2 separate regions of the Homo sapiens genome follow, and region 1 is linked to region 2. The links are contacts of gene promoters, found by promoter capture Hi-C in human tissues and cell types (Jung and others, 2019). All regions are on one chromosome and are shown on one strand. The core of a region is centred on a gene start or on the middle of the fragment in contact, and the rest is flanking DNA. Distances in the headings are between cores, read along the strand shown.

Evidence for each region. The method cuts DNA at HindIII sites, captures the fragments that hold promoters and counts their contacts. A contact is called where the count stands out against the background at its distance.
Region 1: a fragment that was not itself captured here is called in contact with the fragment with the promoter of ANO7 in region 2 in 2 of the 25 tissues and cell types used here (bladder and pancreas).

What each region holds. Positions count from the first base shown.
Region 1 is chr2:241,323,515-241,326,214 of GRCh38, forward strand. SEPTIN2 (septin 2) reads left to right here. Exons shown (of 13, transcript NM_004404.5): 2 at 702-727; 3 at 2,479-2,599. The coding sequence starts at 719. Among named protein-coding and RNA genes, the nearest start is that of SEPTIN2, 8.9 kb to the left of the region's middle. The HindIII fragment of the contact is 3,359 bases long and covers 1-2,700 here.
Region 2 is chr2:241,187,405-241,190,104 of GRCh38, forward strand. It overlaps ANO7 (anoctamin 7), which reads left to right and starts at 1,273. Exons shown (of 25, transcript NM_001370694.2): 1 at 1,273-1,362; 2 at 2,653-2,700. The coding sequence starts at 2,660. LOC105373971 (a long non-coding RNA gene) reads right to left here and starts at 1,018. Exons shown (of 3, transcript XR_924064.3): 1 at 872-1,018. RefSeq lists enhancers at 543-1,227, 1,228-1,911. The HindIII fragment of the contact is 24,444 bases long and covers 1-2,700 here.

The DNA of each region.
Region 1 (2,700 bases), core at 166-2,665, 140 kb after region 2:
CCCAAAGTGCTGGAATTACAGGCGTGAGCATCACGTCTGGCCTAATTTTTTTAATCGAATTTATTTTTGTAATGATAGATGCTTGTCTTATTCCTAGGGAAATATTTGAAGTAATTGAGATGCTGTCACCTAAAATAATCAAAAGGCTCCTGATTCAGTTAAAAGAATTCATTTAAGTACAGAGTGTAAGCGAGCTACACCAAAGAATGGTGATTAGCGCTCCCAGGGTGGGGAAAAATGAGGATTGTTTATATAGGCAAAATGGAGGTGCCAAACAGAATTATAACATTTTCGGAACTAAGGCTCATTTAAAGATACAAATTTGATTGGCTACTATTGATTACACTTGAAGGGATTTGTTTAACTTCCTTTTGTAAAGAAGTAACAGTCATAAGGATCTCTCATCTCCCAGTCATTTAGTCTAGTTTTGAATAAAGAATAGGGGGTCTGGTTAATATATACATCTAAACACAAAAGTCAGAAAGAATAAAAGTAGTGATGTTACACGAGCCAGCTGTCAGTGCTTAACTTTTCCCTTTGGCCTAATGCATTTGGAAGGTCCTGAAATTGTATTTTCTTTTTACATTGCCTATGTATGTGTAAGTCTTCTTCAGGTCAGTTCACGCTGTTAAATATACGTGCGTATACATACATACTATGTATGTGCGTTTATGTGTGTCTGTGTGTTTTTTTTTTAACAGACGAAGCTTCACAAAAGATGTCTAAGGTAAGATCATACTTCATGTATCTACAGCATAAGGAGAAATTGCTTTATGTTTTCAGACTGTTGACAGTCGGGACTTATATGATTCATTATTTTTAATACAACTGATACATTTGATTCATTAACACAAAGAGTTCTAATTTAGTTGTCTTTTTTTTTTTTTTTTTGAGACGGGAGTCTTGTTCTGTCACCAGGCTGGAGTGCAGTGGCATGATCTCAGCTCACTGCAACTTCTGCCTCCCACGTTCAAGCGATTCCCCTGGCTCAGCCTCCGGAGTAGCTGGGACTGCAGACACGTGCCACCACGCTGGCTAATTTTTTGGATTTTAGTAAATTCGGGGTTTCACCGTGTTGGCCAGGATGGCCTTGATCTGTTGACCTCGTGATCCACCCGCTTTGGCCCCCCGAAGTGTTGGGATTACAGGTGTGAGCCACCGTGCCTGGCCTAATTGTCATCTTAAAAGCTTGGAGCTTTCTCTTTTTTCAGGCTTCTACTTTCTTTTCTCTACACACATCAGTAACAGTCCTTTTGGCCCCCTTAGTTCATTCCCAGCAGACCAGATAATTTAGAATTCTGATAATTTATTATGATGAAATTGATGGGGCTCTTAGACTTGATAAATTGGTTTAAATCAGCCTTTGCAAGTTAGTTCAGAGATAAATTAGTGCTAAAGAACATATTCTGAGAAAAGCAGAACTTGTGGTTAACATTGCAAGATTATTATTTCTGTTTTTTTTTTATCTTTGAATCCTGTGGGTGTTCATTACTGTCCAATGCAAAATCATCATACCAGTTTTTGCATTTTATACCAGTGTTAGCATGGAACACAGATAAGCAAAAAAAAAAGTCATTATTTCACCACTCAGGAATAACCACTGTTAATATGTTACATATATTCTTTTTCACCTGTGTGTGCATTTGACTATACATTTACAAAATGTAATCCTAAAGGAAATACTATTTTGTATCTTGCCTTTTTCAATTAATAAATTGATTTTTAAAATTTCTTCTCATTTTCAGTATGCCACTGTCTAGATTCTGGTTACTTCTGCTATTCTTGCCTTCTCATATCTCTGTCCTCTCTCTCATCAGATACCCTTCTGTCAAGGAATATTGATGCTTCAGTGTAGTCATCTATGATCTTCTCATTCTGTCTTTTCTTTCTTGGTCTTTGACACTAGATACTCAACATCCCACCCCTAATTTGCCTGCCTCACCCTTGATGAAACTCTGTTCTATAGAGCTAGAAGCACAGCAAGAGAGATGCTTTTTTCCTCGATACTTTTCAGAAATGCATTGCACCTAATACCTGGGAGAAGCTATTCTTTAGCCAAGTTTGTTGAATGAAACCATTCATTCAAAGTACTGTCAGCTGTAGCAGTACTTTGTAAGCTTGACTGATTTTCCTGGAACTCCATAGTCTCTCAAGTCGAAATTTGAAATTGCATTAAGATGTATTAAGCATGTATCTTCTATGTATTGTTAAATTCCTAAACAGAATACTGATTAACAAAATGTTAATTTTCAGTCGCATACAACTAAGGAGTTATACTAGATAAGTTTTTCTTTTTTTAATGCTCCTAGTTGAATACTACTGGTTTTCTGATAGAAGTATGACCTTCTGGAAGTGTTTATACTTTTTAAAAAATTTGTGAAAACTGATAACCTATGTTTGTTTCATGTCTAACTGATTATATCTTAAAAGCAACTACTAAGGTGTTTATTAGTTTGTTTGTTTTTTAATCTTATTTAGCAACAGCCAACTCAGTTTATAAATCCAGAAACACCTGGCTATGTTGGATTTGCAAACCTCCCCAATCAAGTTCACCGAAAATCAGTGAAAAAAGGTTTTGAGTTCACACTGATGGTGGTCGGTAAGAAATTAATCTATAGTCTCCAACTTACTAAATAAATATCTCCCCTTTCCAATCTCTGGAGTATGATAACGTGACCTATAAAGAAAGAGGAAAATTTG
Region 2 (2,700 bases), core at 23-2,522:
CAACACAGGTCCAAGAACAGGGCCCCTTGGGAGGTGCCAAGCACAGAGGGGCATAGGTATAAGGGAAAGCTGCAGCCAGGATGAGGGTCCGCCTGGAGGGATTTCAACAGGCAGAAGGGGGCACCTGGAACAGCAAGCTGAGCTTGGGGCTCCCCAGTGCAGTTGTGCATGGAGGGCGAGGAGCACGGGTGGTAGGTTCTCAGACACTGCCAGGCACCAAGGAGGAAAGGGGGAGGGGGAGGGAGAGGGGAAGAGGAGGGGCGGGGAGAAAGGATAGGAGGAGAAGGAGGAGGAGAGGGAGAAGTGGGGGGAGGGGGAGAAACAGGAGGAGGGGAGTGGGGAGAAAGGAGGAGAAGGAAGAGGAGAGGGAGAAGTGGGGGGGAGGGGGAGAAACGATAGGAGGAGGGGGAGTGGGGAGAAAGAGGAGGAGGAGGAGGAGTTGGGGGGAGAAATGATAGGAGGAGAGGGAGAGGGGAGAACGGATAGGAGGAGAAGGAGAGGGAGGAGTAGGGGGGAGAAACAATAGGAGGAGAAGGAGGAGAGGGAAGGTGGGGAGAAAGGATAGGAGGAGGGGGAGAAAGGAGGAGGGGGAGGAGGGCTAGGAGGAGAAAGAGGAGGGCTAGGAGGAGAATGAGGACGAGGAGGAGGGCGGAAAGGATGGGAGGAAGGCTAGGACCCCTCCTGTCCTTTTGCAGATGGGGCCCTGAGCATGGGATGTGCCTGAGGTCACCCCTCAGGCATTAGCAGAGCCAGCAGTGTGATCTGGGTCTCCCAATCTCCCCAGCCCCCGGGTGAAACCCTGGCCCACCACTCAGCACATGCTACGTAACCTCAAGGAGCCTCAGTTTCCCCCCACATAAACAGAGCTTACGAGGTCTGCCTGGCAAGGCTTCCAGCAGAGGTGGCACTTGTGGCTGTTCCTGTGGAATCCCACCTCCTCGAGACCCTCCAAGGCAGCAACTATGACAGCTGATGCCAGCCCTGAAATCTCTAAGCAAATAAGGTTCCCAGGAGGACGGCAGCATTTGCATGCGGGTGTGTGAAAGCCCAGCCAAGTGGGCTGCCTCTGTCTGCAGCTCTGAGCCCCACACCCCCTATTTAAACAAAGATAGATCCTGCTCCAGGAGCCGGGAAGCCTTGCCCTGGCCAGCTGTGCTGGGCACCTCCCCTGCCTGCTTCCTGGCCCACTTGCAGGCAAGGTGAGGGCATGCGAATGGCTGCCACTGCCTGGGCGGGGCTCCAAGGGCCACCCCTCCCCACCCTCTGTCCCGCAGTGAGGACGGGACTCTACTGCCGAGACCAGGCTCACGCTGAGAGGTGGGCCATGACCTCCGAGACCTCTTCCGGAAGCCACTGTGCCAGGTGGGGACCCAGCCTAGACGTGTGGGCCACAGGGAGAAGGTGGAGCGTTGGACTCTAGGGAGGCAGGGCGGCACCCCAGCCCACCGGGACTTTCACACACCCTGGCCTGTGGGGAGGCAGTGCCAGGGCCCGCCCTGGTCCCCAAAGCCCCTTGGGGCACGAGGAGGGACACACACTCAGTGCGGCTCTGGACGGGGTACACCCAGCTGGGGTTGGCTTCCTGCCTGCCCAGGGGCTCCCCCATGGAGCAGGTCCCTTCGTTGGGGTGGGGGGCATCCCCATTCTTTCTGCAGAGAGCTCTGAGGAGGGGCCCGCCTGCCCACCACAGAAGGATGGGGGCATGAGGGGCTGCTGGGTGGCCGAAACTCCTCGGGGACTTTCCTCCAGGAACACCCCACAGTCCGTAGTGAGGCTCCCAGCCTGGGGCCGGGGCCGAGTCCTAACACTGAGACCTGGCTCGGGCTTCAGGGTTAGGCAGGTGCAGGCGGCCCAGGCTCAGTCTCTGTCCCTCTGGGCCTCCGCTAATGTGAAGTGAAGGGTAGAACTAGAAGGCTGCCCCTCCGACCTCCTGCGGCGCCTCCATGGTCACACCCTCCGGTCATCGTCGCAGCTCCAAATGCCAGCCCCAGCTCGAACCCTCTCCTTCCAGGGCCACAGATGTCGTGCTCCTGGCCCCGTTTTGCCAGCCCAAGACTAGGAGCCACGGCACCTGTCCTCCCACAGAGAGAGACCCCCGGGGCGAAGGTGCGGGAGGAAGCTGGGACCCCCAAGAGTTGTGAGGCCGGGCTCCATCAGGCCCGCCTTGCTGGGGAGCTCAGGGCCTATGGGTCCTGGCACTGGGTCCTCAGGCCATGAGCGAAGGCAGGCGACTTGAGGGGTTTCCTGTCCCTGGCTCACATGGCTCCACCCTACGGATAAGAGAGGGAGAGGTGTCTGTACTCCAGGCCCACCTTTCTGGGCCTTCTCAGGCTCCACTGAGTACCCAGGCAGAGTGGACGGCATTCAGGGCTGGGGGACACGGGCACTCACTGGATGGACAGACAGACGCCTGCTGTGCCAGGCCTGCCAGACGCTCCCGCCCCGGCACTGGTTTCTTCCTGGAGCTCGTGGCTGGCTAGGGGGTTCTCCATGTGCTCATGGCCAGGAGAGTCTGCCGAGCCAGCCCAGCCCCATTCTACTCCGAGTCGAGTCTGTAAAGTGAGCTCACTGCAGGCAGTGTGGTGGCCCCAGGAACGGGTCTCACCCATCCCCTCTCTGACCCCCATCCCCACCCGGCCTTGCTGGGTGCAGGAGCAGGATGCTGCGGCGACGGGCCCAGGAAGAGGACAGCACCGTCCT